Linked DNA regions of Homo sapiens: region 2 is linked to region 1. The links are contacts of gene promoters, found by promoter capture Hi-C in human tissues and cell types (Jung and others, 2019). All regions are on one chromosome and are shown on one strand. Each heading gives the region's core, a stretch centred on a gene start or on the middle of the fragment in contact. The rest is flanking DNA. Distances are from core to core; before and after follow the strand shown. Region 1 holds the start of IL25 (interleukin 25). Region 2 overlaps LOC105370406 (a long non-coding RNA gene).

Evidence for each region. The method cuts DNA at HindIII sites, captures the fragments that hold promoters and counts their contacts. A contact is called where the count stands out against the background at its distance.
Region 2: a fragment that was not itself captured here is called in contact with the fragment with the promoter of IL25 in region 1 in 1 of the 25 tissues and cell types used here (thymus).

The regions. Positions count from the first base shown.
Region 1 is chr14:23,367,717-23,375,613 of GRCh38, reverse strand. It overlaps IL25 (interleukin 25), which reads right to left and starts at 2,805. Exons shown (of 3, transcript NM_172314.2): 1 at 2,639-2,805; 2 at 2,218-2,438. The coding sequence starts at 2,647. The HindIII fragment of the contact is 4,168 bases long and covers 1-3,557 here.
Region 2 is chr14:23,195,367-23,203,263 of GRCh38, reverse strand. LOC105370406 (a long non-coding RNA gene) reads left to right here. Exons shown (of 4, transcript XR_943606.3): 3 at 2,402-2,560. It also overlaps a transcript of RNF212B not described here. Among named protein-coding and RNA genes, the nearest start is that of SLC7A8, 16 kb to the right of the region's middle. RefSeq lists an enhancer at 4,455-5,239. The HindIII fragment of the contact is 5,166 bases long and covers 934-6,099 here.

The DNA of each region.
Region 1 (7,897 bases), core at 1,556-4,055:
GCACTTGTCAGGCCTTGGAAAGATGGGCCGGAAACAGAGAGGGTGGGGTGGCATGGGAGTGCCAGAAGAAGGAAATGGTCCGTCTGGGGCCTTGGCCTCTTGTCTCAGTTCTGAACCCACTTGCTGTGTAACTTTGAACAAGTCACCTCCCTCCTTTATTAAATTTTCCCCACTGTAAATGAGGGTAGCAGGTGACAGAGTGCTTTCCAACTGGTCCTGGGACCGTGAGGGAGGCAGGGGAGGGTGAGCAGGCTCCTGCCTTAGCCTCCATTGACCAGCACTGCTTCTATCTGACTCAGCATGAGGTTTCTTATTGTAATGATTACACTTTAGGTGTTTTTGTTTGTTTTTTGATTTTTTGTTTTTGTTTTTTTGAGACGGAGTACCCAAGCTGGAGTGCAGTGGCACGATCTTGGCTCAACTGCAACCTCTACCTCCTGGGTTCGAGCGATTCTCCTGATGCCCGCCACCATACCCAGCTAATTTTCATATTTTTAGTAGAGATGGGGTTTCATGATGTTGGCCATGGTTGGCCAGGCTGGTCTTGAACTCCTGACCTTAGGTAATCCACCCACCTCGACCTCCCAAAGTGCTGGGATTACAGGCATGAGCCACCGGGCCGGACTTTAGGTGGTGTTTCTATTATTATTATAGCATTATTGCAAAAGTAAAAACCACTCTGACATCCAAGTATTAAAGAGTATAAAGAGTGAAAGTTAATAGTCTCTCCCTACCAGCCCCACTCCCCAGAAGAAGCTATCCTCAACTATTTCCTGCACATTCTTCCAGACGCTGTGCAAGCTTATATTATAAGCATACTTGAGAGTGCATGGGAAGACTTATTTACTTATTCTGAAAGGATTTCATGGCAAAAAAAAAAAAAGAAAGAAAGAAAGAAAGATGAAAAACACTGAAAAGTAGATGTCCCACAGGTCTGCGACTCCATTAGTCTGGCAGGCGACAGTCTCCAGCTTGTGGGACCATTCCCCACACAGACAAGCCCTGGCAAATGGAATTAGCTAGCACATCACTTCCCAAAGTGGGTTCCCTAATAAATCACCTGCACCTGTTGGGTGCTTAAATGAATTTGGGAAACACCAGTTTAACGGTTTACTTTCTACAGACTTCTTGCAGACTTTAATGTACAATGACAGTATGAATCTCCAAGGGGTAGGAGATACAGCAGTCTTTCCCAAGTTTACCTGGCATCACTTTTTTCTGAGAAGCAGCTCATGGGATGAGCATTGCACAGAACACACTTTGGGGAAAGCCACCTGAGTGGTTCTCGGGTTCACAGACTCCCAGCAAGGGGTCTGGAAGACAGCTGAGTTAACCTCTGGCACCCGCCTCCCCTAAGAAGCTCCCATGCCATCTGATTTGGCCCAGGACCCAGCCAGCTTCTGAGACCACTCCAAAGAGTCATGACCTGTAGTGTCCACACTAGATCCAATCTCAGTTAGATCTGACCCCCTCCCCACCACTGAACTTCTCCATCTACCCCCAAAGCCAATGCTAAGACAGAACTAGAAGGAAGAAGTGAAATCACATGTCTGGAATCCCTAAGACCCTAGTTTTTAATATTTTGCTTCATCATTCATATTTCAGCACTTCCTAATATTTTTCATATCATGGCACAAATAGAGAACTATAATATTTATGTGGCACACTGAGTGAAAGAATACAGTACCCATGATCATGATCAAAGATATCCAGTCCACAGCTCCAGCCAGCCAGCTGCCCCCAAAAGTTAAGGGTTTCACTCCTTTAGTATGCTTATAACTAACCCATTCATGGCCAGGGCAGTATCAATTGGTATTGGGATGCTTCATGCCTGTATCATGCCATTATTCCCTAATATTTTACCCAGAAAAAACATGGGCCATTATAGGGATGTTTTAAAAGAAAAGGAGAGAACCAACATAAATACAGACTTTTACATACATTATATTTCATTTGATCTGCACATTAGCCTATGGGGCATTATATCATTTTGCAGGTGAAAAAAAAAAAAACCCTGAGTTTTGAAAACTTGAATTGACTCAAGATCATCCAATGAGAGTCAGAGCTAGGACTCAAATACAGACCTTGTCTAACTCCCAAACCTTTACAGCCCCTCTGAGATCAAAATGGGAAAGTAAGCTGGAATTGCCCTGGTCCCTCACGCATACCCTGGCCAGCACACACAGGGCAGGCATTCGGGAGGGGCAGCAGACTCACTCATATCTCCAGGGGGAGATGGCCCTGCTGTTGAGGGGTCCATCTTCACTGGCCCTACAGGACTCTGGGTGGCGGTTGGGCCTAGCAGGCTCTAGGGGAGGCACAGGCACAGTGCTCCACCTCAGCAGCTCCTCAGAGGTGTCCTGCCCTTTGCTGGGGCAGCAGCTGGGCCAGTGGCTGTAGGTGTGGGTTCCCATGACCATTGCCAAGAATGCAACCACCTGTAGGAAAAGGCTAATGAGAGAACTGTCCTCACCTAATCTGGGTCGCTCCCTCATCTGCACCCTCCCCCTGGGATCCCAGTTTCTCACTCCACTTGGCCCCCAGCCCCAAACCTGGCAGCTTGGCCTCCCTCCACCCTCAGCAGCATCTCTGCTCCTCTCCCTCTCAGCACAGCCCTCAGGCAGCCCTCTGCACTGACCTGGTACATGCTGGGCACTGCACACTCAGTCACAAGTGGGGCACTGACTGACAGGCCTCGTGGAAGCAGGCTGACTGGAGCAGGTTAGGAGTCCTGATTTTATTTTCAGCAAGCCTGTTTTGTTTATTCAAATTTATTTCCACTGTCTTTTTAGGGAGTGACTTGAGGTTAAAAAACAAAACCAAAAAAACTCTGAAAGTATTTCCAAAGGCTGCTTAAAATGCAATACTCATGGAAGTTGTGATGACCATCATTATATGCCTGGTAGCTGATTGGGTAAACTTTGCTCTTTGAATTTTTCTGGCCATGGGGTCAAAGCAATAACAGTCTGCTGTTCTGCATTCTTGTGAACTGGCATTAGCGGGATTTCCCTGGTTGGTTTGGTAGCCAAAATTAGGAAATGTCTTGTGGCCTCCCTTCAAGAGGCCTCGTTTCCATGATCCCTGCTCCCCCCATCCAGGGTCTGGTTTCACCATTCCCCTCTTCCCAGGTGTCCCTCTGATCATCCACCTTCGTGATTATTTCCTTTCCCTTAGACATCCTTTGACTCCCATCCCCTTTGTTCTCTGACCTCTTCCACATTTTCAATGACCCCAAAATTCTATGACCCCCATCAGCTATGACTTCTCCCCCATTGTCCATGACCCACTCCCTAACTCCCCCTTGCCCTCGCCAGTCACTGCCCCCCACCGGGGATACAAGCCTACCCTCACAGGGCTGCTGGAAGACCCTGACTTCCTAAGTTTGTTGGCTGGATGGGCAAGGTCTGATGGAAGAAGCTGTGGGTGAGTGTCCCCATTGCACAAATGAGAAGGTGAAGCAAGGAAGAGGAGGGAAACTGAAACAGCCTCACCTAAGACCCAACAGGAAGGAGGTCTCAGTTCCAGGAACCAACCTGCTCTCATTCACAGAGCCTTGGGGACCAAGCCCATGACAGGGTCAGCTACTGCTTTCAGGCCATGAAGTGAGCCCACTCAGCCTCAGCAGGTCCAGAAACATGGGCCACTGTTAGCCAGGAGGGTGTATGTGTGCCCCAGAAAGGCTTACAGTTGGGCTTGACCCCAAAGACACAGGTCAGCCGGGTCCAGCCTGCTTGGGAGACACTGTGCTGAGAGTGGGCCAGTGTGTCCTTCCCCCCAGGTCCTTCTCTTCATGCTTGCCTATTGGCCTGCCTCATCCCCCATACGCACCCAACATACCCATACACAGACATTGCCCCTAGAATGATGTGGCTTGATTTGCATGTGCTTTCCCTTAGAAAATACTCCTCTAGTAACCAAGGACTAGGAAATCAACAAAGGGAACCAGGAATAACTTAAACTGCAGTGAGAGGAATCTTTCCAATGCGTTAGGGCAAAGCAGCCCCAAAAGAGAGAAGTGATGAAGTCAAAGGGCAATCTGGAAAATTGGGAGAAACTGCTCTGCTCTGATGAGTCTTGGGGCACCTGGAACTGTGGGATGGAGGGCACTTAGAAGAAGCAGGTGGTGGCTGGGAAAGCAGGGGCACTCAGGAACAGTGATGAGGCCAGTATCATGGCCCCACTCTCACTGCCTCACCCTCTGCCCCCAGTACTCGCAGACGTCCTCTCCCTTCCATATCCTGCTGGCCTCAGCTCCTGTGCACTTACATGTGCCAGGCATGGTGCTAAGCCCTGGGCATGCATCATCTCATTTTATCCCGACAATGAAACCATGACATGGAAACTATTATCCCCATGTTACAGATGAGGAAACTGAGGCCCAAGGAAATTTAGTAACTTACCCAAGATCACAAAGAAAGAGGCTGAGCTGGTTTCCCATTCCAGCTCTGACCAATTCCACATGTAACCTCCTGGCATGGAAGTGCCACACCGTGCCTACCCCTAGTTGGCTGTGAATGGAAGGGGAGCCCCACAGTGAATGCTTTCCTGCTCACCTGGGCTTGGGTTGGGACAAGTTTCAACTGCACCTGCTGAGGGCCACAGGGTGTGTCTGCCCACTTAGGTATCCAGCCCTGCTGTTCGGATTCACTGCACTAGCTCCCTTTCCTAGCCTTTTGTCTGGCAGACATGGCCTCAAGGTGGCTTCCCGTGCTCCTGGGAAAACCTCAATCCCAGAACAGGATCTTAGGAGGCAGTGCCGTTTCAGAAGAGCTGGATACCTATGGGTCTCGCTCTCACCAATCAGAACCTCAGGGCTAAGAAGGTAGTAGAAATGGAGTTGGCTCAGATCTCCTATCTTGACCCTTGCCCAGGAGGGGGTGTTCAAAGGAGCCAGAAGTGATCCCAACTACCTGTTTCACTTGCTGACGCTGCAGGGAGGACCCAGCCTAGGTCACCAGGAACGTTGCCCTTCAGAAGAGTCCTTTGGGGTGTCCCTCTAGGACAGAGGGAGAAACCCTCCAGGAAGGGTTGGCTTTTCCCACCCCCATGATGACCAGGACTGACCTGAGAACCTGTGCTCTGAGCCACATGCCCCCACCCCACCCCACTTGCTCACCCTCTGTCCTTATCTCAGTAGCAGCTTTGTGGGACTCCTTAGGGTGACTCCCTGTCATGAGAAACATTTTCCAGTGGGGTTTCCTCCTGAGGTGACTAGTTTTGGAATCCCTGAGTCACTTCAGCTTCCAGGGAACCCTTGGGGGTGTGAGGATAGGGGGGTGGCAATGGGGAGAAGGCTGGAGGCAGGAACAAAGGAAAGTCTGCATGGCACATGACATCAAGGTCCCCTCCCAGCACGTCTTCACCTGCCTAGGCCTGACCTGGCAGTTGAAGAGAGCTTCCTGGGATTCCTGTCCCTGTGGCCCTGAGGAAAGAGAGAAGCACCTGCTAGGAAAGGGCAGGGAAGATGTGGTGGAATACACTTCCCAATCTTGGCTTGGAAAGGCTCTTGGGGCTTACAGAAAGTGAGAATATGTCTTCCCCGCCCCTTCTCAGGAAGATATGCAAGTCTCCACCTGCTGCCTTGAAGTCTTGGCCCTGCCAATGACCAGCTCTGGATCTTGAGCCCTCTCTCTGCTCCTCCCTCTTCAATTGTAGAAGTGGGTGGGTTTGGGTGGGCGGGGATTGGGGGGAACATTGACCTGGATGGTCACAAAGGTGCCAACCAGCTTAGCTGCTCCAGACCTCAGCTCCTGAAATAGTGCTGAATCCACAGGACTCAGCAGGGTCTACTGAAGCTCATCGGCACTCACTGTACATGAAGCTAAGGCACCGAACATCAAAATGTTGAAATACTTCTGCTCCTGCTGGTAAGTAGATGCTTCCTTCAGCCTTGGGACACCACCTTACCATACTTCCCTATGATCCAGCAACTAAAGGTTGAACACCTGGCACAGATGGAGGCCCCCAGAACAGTGCTACCACTTTCTGATTGGTAGATGATAATGGTTTAGCTACAAAAACGCCTAGGCTCAGGAGCAGCCTTCAAGGAGAACCCAGTCTAGACCCTGGGAGACACATGGAGAATCAGAGTTAGCAGAACCAAGAACCCAACAAACCCATGTCTTTAGTCCAGGGCTGTAGCCTTCCCCAGGAGGCCCCTCAGCTTACTCGGCTTTGTCCTATAGTCATGGCTGCCTTCGTTCACTTATCCACTCACCAAATATTTACTGTGCACCTACTGTGTTCCAAGCACTATTCTAACAGCTAGAAATGCAGGGGAGGACAAGCCAGACAAGGTCCCTGCCTCATGAAGCTTACGTTTTAGGGGGAGACAGATTATAAACAAGGAAACAAGATAATTTCTGATAATAATAAGTGCTATGAAGAAAATGAAACAGCATTATGAGATAGGGAGTTACTGGGGGTGGGGGAGAGGAAGGCAGGGCAACTTTAAGTTGGAAAGCCAGGAAAGGCCTTTCTGAGGATGCAGGATTTCACCTGATGACAGAAAGGGTCTGGGGGAAGTAGTTTAGGCAGAGGGGGCAGGACATGCAGAGTCCTAGAGGTGGAAAAGAGCATGGCATATTTGAGAAACAGAAAGGACAGTGTAGATGTTGAACAAGAGATAAGGAGGAGAGGGAGACAAGATGAGGTGAAAGAGGTGGGCAGGGAGGAGATCACATAGGGTCCTCCAGGCTACCATGGAGCATTTGGATTTTATTCCAGAGTCAGCCGGAAGATATTGACTGGATTCAAGCATGAGCTACATGATATGTTTCTTGAGGGCAGGCACCATGTCCTTGACATTCTAGTGCCACCACAAGGCCATCACCAAATAACAATAATAGTAGTTGCCTTTGTCCAAAATTTACACCTCATGGGCCTGATACTGTTCTTGGGATTCCCTTAATCCTCATAACAAGTAAATGCTAAAAGTTCAATTAACATTCCCACTCTACAGACAAGGAACCAGAGGCTCCAGGAAGTCACAGAACTTGGCCAAGGTAACTAGCCAGTGTTAGAACCAGGATTAGAACCCAGGCAATCTAGGTGCTATGGGTCCAAAGAGAGGAGAACTGAAGAATTGGTGAGCACCCAAGAAGTTTTGGGTAGCAGGAGAAACAAGGAGAGGTCCAGGAAGTCTTGGGGTCAGGTGAGGAAAAAACCAGCTCATTGGACCTGCAGGGAAGGGGAAAGAATGGGAGAAAAGACTGGGACCCGGGAAGCCAAATGGAGGGGTTCCTTCCCTTCTTCTCCCTGAATATGGCAAGGGCAAACCTTGAAGACCCACTGCTTGAGGCTGCCACCCACCCAGGGTCTCAGCTACCTGCCAAGCCTGGGTTTTCTCCAACCTCACCTGCCCTCAACAACGAACACATTCAGCTTTCTGGAAAGCACAAGTCAGAGGGGAAGCCAAGGTAAAGAGGAAAAGCCATGGAAGAAGAGCACTGTGCCTGGCAATCTACATAAGCTTACTCCTCACCAAAGTCACTGCCACAGAGGAGGACCTGAGACTCGGATGCCCTATAACTGGACAAAGGTCACACAGCTAGTTAAGCAGGATTCACTTGTGACTCTGACTGGCTCCATTCCACACCTGGATATTCCAGAAGCAGCCTTATTTCCCACTGGTCTGTCCTCTGCTGTCCCTCTTCTACCCTTCCCCGGGCAGGGAAACTGCCTGCCCATCTCCCAAGCCAACCCTTGCCTGGTCCTAGCAGTTTCCTTCCTCCTTAGCCTTTTCTGGCCTCCATCTATTTCCCCTCGTGCCAGTCAAAGCATTCATCTTTGAAGACAGGGTTTCCTGCCCACCTCCACCTTGGACCCCAATTTGCCTTGGCAGTCTCCTGGGCAGAGATCACACCAAGTCACTCGCCAGCAGCTGGATATCCGTGTG
Region 2 (7,897 bases), core at 2,267-4,766, 170 kb after region 1:
GAAGTAGCCCAGGAATGGAAAACCAAACATCATATGTTCTCACTGATCTGTGGAAGCTAAGCTATAAAGATACACAGGCATAAGAATGATATAATGGACTTTGGGGACTTTGGGATCTTGGGGGTGAGGGTTGGGGGGATGAGAGATAAAAGACTACAAATAGGGTGCAGTGTATACTGCTTGGGTGATGGGTACACCAAAATCTCACAAATCACCACTAAAGAACTCAGTTATGTAACCAAATACTCCCTGTTCCCCAAAAAACCTATGGAAAAATTAAAAAACAAAATAAAATGAAATAAAATAAAGTCCTTGTAACATTGAGTTAGAGGGCTTTAACTCCTGGGTCTAAAATGGACACCAAGTCCTGTTAAATTTTAAACACTCACAGCAATTTTTTTTTTTTTTTTTTTTGAGACAGGGTCTCGCTCTGTCGCCCAGGCTAGAGTGCAGTGACCAATCTTGGCTCACTGCAACCTCCACCTCCCAGGTTCACGCCATTCTCCTGCCTCAGCCTCTCGAGTAGCTGGGACTACAGGTGCCCACCACCATGCCCGGCTAATTTTTTGTATTTTTAGTAGAGACAGGGTTTCACCGTGTAAGCCAGGGTGGTCTCGATCTCCTGACCTCGTGATCCACCCGCCTCGGCCTCCCGAAGTGCTGGGATTACAGGCGTGAGCCATCACGCCCAGCCTAAACACTGACAGCAATTAAAGCCTCATCTTTAGGCCCTGTAGAAGATGCCAATCAAAATAAAATGCATTCCTGAGACACAGGGCAAGAAATTAAAGCTATTCAACTCCTCAAGGCCCAGGGACTATCACGGAAGAGGTGGGCACATAAGATCAAAGATTGTAAGGGCCGATTTGGAAAGATAAATAAGTTTAGTTTCTCTATAAATTAATCATTAGTGTCAAAAACACACTGATGCAAAAACCAGTATATGGACCCCTGTATTAGATTAACAAGTTTTTTGTGAAGCATTAACCAACTGCTTTTTTTTTTTTTTTTTTAAGACAGGGTCTTGTTCTGTTGCCCAGGCTAGAGTGCAGTTGCGCAATCTCGGCTCACTGCAAGCTCCTCCTCTTGGGTTCAAGCAGTTCTCCTGCCTCAGACTCCCGAATAGCTGGGATTACAAGTGCACACCACCACGCTTGGCTAATTTTTGTATTTTTAGTAGAGATAGGGTTTCACCATGTTGGTCAAGCTGGTCTCGAACTCCGGACCTCAAGCAGTCCACCCACCTCGGCCTCACAAAGTGCTGGGATTACAGGCATGAGCTACTGTGCCCGGCCTCCAACTCCTTAATAAAGTTTATAAAGGTTATAAAAGGTTTATGGAAGTTATATTTTATACTCAAGAATAAACTTTATAGATTGCTTACAAAATTTGGAAAAGCAAGTGGAATTGGCTCCATGCTGTTTTTATTAGGGCTTCAGGTTTAGAAAATTAAGTCCCCTCTCTCAATAAATGAAGGTTTTCACTATTTTTGAAATCCTTGAATTACCACTTTGGTTAAACAGATGACTTTACAATGACCTGAAATCCTATTTTGTAATATCAAGTGTTTTAAACCTTTTATATTTGACAAACTTTCCAAAATTAAATTATAAATTGTGTCTTGTTCTAACCTAATTACTCCTTTAAGATATTACATTCCCTAAAGTCCAAAAATAATATAATTTGGCTTATTTGGTATAAAAATTATACAGGAAGCATTGTCAAATATGAAATGGTTATTTGGTTTCTTTGAGCTGTATTTGTATAAATGTTATTGGTATGTGTTCCAAAATTATGAGAAACTTATAATTCTAATATAACTTAGTGTACATTATCAATAACAATAATTGTTATGTTAAGTTAAAATTACTGTGTGCCACAGAGGTAACAAATTCCCTTGTCAATTATGTTTTTGACTATGGCTGCCCTAAAACTTTTTGTCATCCACAGACAATTGTTGCCTTGTTTTGGTTCTCTTTAGAAGATGGTTTTATAACCAGCTATTAAACTATAACAGGTGCTCTTGAGTGCAGATTTCTGATAGCTTTGGAGATTGTGACATCAGAATAGAGAAAAAACTTTCAAGACTCATGGAGAGCTAAAATGTTCATGAATATCAAGCAGAACAGGAATTAACTGCATGGACTGAACTAATCTTTTTGACTTTTTGCTTAAAATGTTGCTGATCCTTTATTCTGTTTTTCAGAGTCTTAAAACTTTTCTTTTGAGCTATTGACAGCTTTCAACAATTTAGTATACTCCCATGAACAAAATTTGGAGCATATTTGTTTCTCTGTAATTGATTTTCTCCAGAATTTGAAAACTATTTGTGAGCTTCTTAACTTTTGGCAATACAGTTAGTTGCATAAGTGCAATAAGAATCTGTTTTCATTTTTAACAGGACACAATTGAAGAAACTGGTAGTTTTACCAAGGCTTTGACTGGAATGGTGCACTTTCCTATAAGGAATCAAACTTGACTTAAGAAGCCAATAAAGCCCTTGGAAAAACTGGCCTCATATTTTGTGTACACAGTCCGTGTACAGGGTTTCTGGCCTGTGGTAAGTAAAGAATATCACTTTCTGACAGGCACGGAAGCCCCAGATTTATCTTGGATCCTCAAGAGGAGAGGAAATTCAGACCAAGTACAGTGGCTCACACCTGTAATCCCAGCACTTTGGGAGGCCGAGGTGGGTGGATCACTTGAGGCCAGGAGTTCGAGACCAGCCTGGCCAACATGGTGAAACCCCATCTCTGCTGAAATTACAAAAATTAGCCAGACACAGTGGCACGCACCTGTAATCCCATCTACTTGGGAAGCTGAGGCATGAGAATTGCTTGATCCCAGGAGGCAGAGGTTGCAGTGGGCCAAGATCATGCCATTGCACTCTAGCCTGGGTGACAGAGCAAGAATCTGTCTCAAAAAAAAAAAGTTGGGGGAGAGGAAATTCACCCAACTTGTAGGTATTTGATGGCACAAATTCATGGCTGGATTCAGCTTTAAAATCTTATCTGAGATTCCTCCTATGGAACAAAGTTTCATCAAAGCCCATTTAAAAGCCTATGTAAAAAATAATTATTTTTGCTGAACTGTATACAAATAATTTGGCCAAGCATAATAAGCAAACCAATCCTACCATGATTTATCTTTAGTAAAATGGGAAACTAGAGAGAGAGAGAAAAAAATGTTTCAAGACGATAGTACACTCGTTGTTAGAGTCTAGTCTTGCCTAATTTTTTTTTTTTTAATTTTTTATTATGTTCTACAGTTTGGGCTGAATTCTAATTGTTTCTTGGCTACAAGTCTTCAAAATAATGTTTTCAACTTTTTCTTTTTTTTCCCTTCTTTTTTTCCCATGTTTCCTAATTAGGAGTCACTGAAAACTAAGCTGTGCTTTCTTAAAGCCCAGCTAACTGAGACTAAACAACTTAAACTTCAGAAGAAAATAACAGCAACCAATTTACATACCTGCCTACTGACTATAGACTTCAGAGAAATGTGGCCTATATAGATTTTCCAAGAATGTTCTTTTGTTTGTTGTTGTTTTTTCTCCCTTCCTCCCCACTATTTTTCCTTCATAGGACATGAGACTTCACAACCTGCTAAAAATCTTCGTTCGGGACCTACCTGTCTAGGAATAAACCATCCTTGCCATGAGAGATCAAATGAAACCTGAGACCAGAGATTCATTTTCTTGTAAAATGCCTTCTCCAAAAGATTTTTGAAAAGAAAGGGGGGAAATATGAAAGGAAATTAAAGCTTGGGGCCCCCAAATCACTAAGCTAAAGGGAATAGTCAAGCTGGGAACTGCTTAGGGCAAAGCTGCCTCCCATTCTATTCAAAGTCACCCCTGTGCTCACTGAGATAGATGCATATCTGATTGCCTCCTTTGGAAAGGCTAACAGAATCTCAAAAGAATGTAACCATTTGTGTATCACCTATCTGTGACCTGGAAGCCTCCTCCCCACTTCAAGTCTTCCTGCCTTTCCAGACTGAACCAATGTACTTCTTACATATATTGATTGATGTCTCATGCCTCCCTAAAATGTATAAAACTAAGCTGTACCCCAACCACCTTGGGCACAGGTCTTCAGGACTTCCTGAGGCTGTCACGGACACATGTCCCCAACCTTGGCAAAATAAACAATTAACTGAGACCTGTCTCAAATTTTCAGAGTTCACAGTATTTTGAAACCAAAATCTGGACACAAGATGTGCCCATTGCTATGGGGGTGTCATTGCCTCTAGGCCCTCTCAGTGGACAGCGTGAGGTATAGCACTAGGTAATATTTGTGTGTATACCGACTCATGTATATACACATATTTCTGTCTATATATATACCAAGCTAGCTAACCAACTCTAATCCACTACCCAAGGGCTCATTCTATTTTTCCCTCCTTGCTTATATGTTACTTCTCTTTCTGATAGTGAAAACCCTTCCTCCCAAAATCCACTATACATTTACTTATTTGTTCAGCCCCAGTACATATGTAAAGCCGTTTGAGAACTATTAACCCATATACCATGAGAAACAGACTTACCAGCTAGAGTATAGTGTTTACATACAGTACGTGGACCTTTTTTTTTTTTTGGACAGAGTTTTCTTGTTCTCAGGCTGGAGTGCCATGGCGCGATCTCGGCTCACTGCAACCTCTGCTTCCCAGGTTCAAGTGATTCTCCCGCTTCAGCTTCCCTAGTGGCTGGGATTACAGGTACCCGCCACCACGCCCAGCTGATTTTTTTTATTTTTAGTAGAGACGGGGGTTTCACTATGTTGGCTAGGCAGGTCTCCTGACCTCAGGTGATCCACCCTCCTCCGCCTCCCAAAGTGCTCAGATTTCAGGCGTGAGCCACCACGCTTGGCTCCAGTATGTGGACCTTTTTTGATATTTGAAGAAATTTGATTATAAACTGGATATTAGTTGATACCAAGGAATTATTGTTAATTTCATTAGGTGTGATAATGGCCTTGAGTTATGTAAGACAATTCCATAATTTTTTTCAGAGGTGCTTATTGAGATATGTGGGGATGAAATAGCATGATGTCTGTAGTTATTTTTTAAACATTTCAGTAAAGAAGACAAGACATATAAGAAGGCAGGAATGTCAGGCCTCTGAGCCCAGGCCAGGCCATCGCATCCCCTGTGACTTGCACGTACACATCCAGATGGCCTGAAGTAACTGAAGATCCACAAAAGAAGTAAAAACAGCCTTAACTGATGACATTCCACCATTGTGATTTGTTCCTGCCCCACCCTAACTGATCAATGTACTTTGTAATCTCCCCCGCCCTTAAGAATGTACTTTGTGAGATCCCCGCCTGCCCACCAGAGAACAACCCCCTTTGACTGTAATTTTCCATTACCTTCCCAAATCCTATGAAATGGCCCCACCCCTATCTCCCTTCGCTGACTCTCTTTTTGGACTCAGCCCGCCTGCACCCAGGTGAAATAAACAGCCATGTTGCTCAAAAAAAAAAAAAAGAAGACAAGACATAGAAGGGGGAAATAGGTAGATAAAACAACATAGCAAAATCTTGATAATTGTAGAATCTGGGTGAGGATTCTGATACATGAGAGTTCATTGTATTATTCTCTCTCCTTTGGGGAATGTTTGAAATTCTTTATTATACAATATTTTTTATTATTTTTTAATTATATTTGTTTTTTTAAATAATTTTTAATTTGCTTATTTAATATTTACTTTTAATATAGGCAAATTAGTGAAAATTATTTTTGAGATGGAGTCTCGCTCTGTTGCCAGGCTGGAGTGCAGTGGCATGATCTCAGCTCACTGCAACCTCCGCCTCCCGGGTTCAAGCAATTCTCATGCCTCGACCTCCCAAGTAGCTGGGACTACAGGCATGTACCACCACACATGGCTAATTTTTGTATTTTTAGTAGAGACAGGGTTTCACCATGTTGGCCAGGCTGGTCTCAAACTCATGGCCTCATGAAATCCACCTGCCTCAGCCTCCCAAAGTGCCGGGCTTACAGGCGTGAGCCACAGTGCCTGGCCTCTCGTTATATTTTTCTCACCCTTTCTGGATGATAACATCAGTGACCACTTATGTACTAATAACACTTAAATATGATTTTTTAGCCCAAATCTTTCTCCTGGGCTAGGGATACCATATATCCAACTGTCCACCAAGTGTTACCACATACATGTCCTATATACATTCATTCAGCAATTTTAAATTGGGTACCTACTTAGTCCTAGGCACTGTACTGGGCCCTGAAGACATTAGTGAGCAAAAAAAGCACCATTGTCCCTGCACTCATGGAGTTTGCAGTCTAGATGGGGAGGTAGACATTAATCATAAAATCACTCTAGTTATCACAAGTGAGGACTCTGAAACAAAGAACACACTCTAGGGCCAGGAATGGGGTGGGTGGGGGCTTCTTTGAGGAAGTAACAATTGTGCTAAATCAGAAGGATGAATAGCAGTGAACTAGGCTAAGGGCGAAGAGAAGCCTCTAGGCAGAAGGAAGAGCATGGACACAAAAAAAGCCCTTTGGGCCCTAGAACAGTGGCTCATGCCTGTAATCCCAGCACTTTAGGAGGCCTAGGCAGGAGGATTGCTTGAGACCAGGAGTTCAAGATCAGCCTGGGCAACATAGCAAGACCCCATCTCTATAAAAATATTTTAAAAATTAGCTGGGCATGGTGGTGCAGCCCTGTAGTCCTAGCTACTCAGGAGGCTGAGGCGGGAGGATTGCTTGAGCCCAGGAATTCAAGGCTGTAGTGAGCTATGATCACTCCACTGCCCTCCAGCCCGTGTGACAGAGCAGGCCCCTGTTTCTATGTTTTTGTTTTTGTTTTTTTGAGCCCTTTGGTAGGTCATCTGAGGACTGAAAGGAGGTTGGTGTGGCTGTGGCACAGAGAGCAGTGGTGACGCAGAGTGGGCTTGGAAGCCAGCTGGAGGTTGGGCCATGCATTTTGGCATGATAATGGCGGAGCGGGGCAGGCTGGAGAAAGAGCAGAAAGAATAATGACAGAGAGACAGTGGGCACTCAGAGGATTGGTAGTTACAATCAGAAAGAAATTTTTCGGCACCTGGTAAAAGGCACTTTTCCATGGTGGCTAAGTGTCTAGGCTCTGATTTGCAGAGTAAATGCTAAGCCAGGTGCTCCCGTTCATAAGGAAGTTTTCAGAGGTCAGTAGACAGCAGCAATTGAGGATGTGACCAAGTGGTAGTAAGCATCCAGAGAAGAATTGAGAAATAACAATGTCATGATTGAAAGCAACTGAGACAGAAAAGAATGTTGTACCTTTTTTCTCCCGTGGCACAGTGAAAAGAGCAAATGCAGTGAGGTCAATCAAGATTTAGAGTCCAATTACAGCTCTGCCATTGTGTGTGTCCTTGGCAAGTCACATAATTTTGAACCCGTTTCCTCCTTTGTAAAATGCAAAACAACGTTTACCTTGAAAGGTTGTTTGGAAGGTTAAACGAAATTAAACATGATGAAATTCCTTGTTACATGAAGTGTCTGGCACATAGTGATTGCTCAATACATGCTAGTCCCTTCCACCGTCCAGGTGCCATCAGAACATGGCAAGGACCCATCTCTACTGAGGAGTATTAGGAGGGTGGATGTGCTGTCGGGAGAGCACAGGTTTCATTTGAGGTGTGGAGGTCCAGGGAGTGTTGGAAGAAGATACTGAGCACACGAAATGAGTGCATGAAGTAGGGGAGAATTAGCACTAAATTGAATTACTGAATAGAAATGAGACTATAATGAAGGAAGAGCATTACAAAACAATTGGTTCCAGAGCAGTGAGGGTGAATCATGGGAACAAAGGACATCGAAGCCTTAGAGGTAGACAAGAGATATGGTGAAGATGGGCTACGAGTCAAGCGCTTATAATTCCATTTGGTTCCTCTGATAGCTT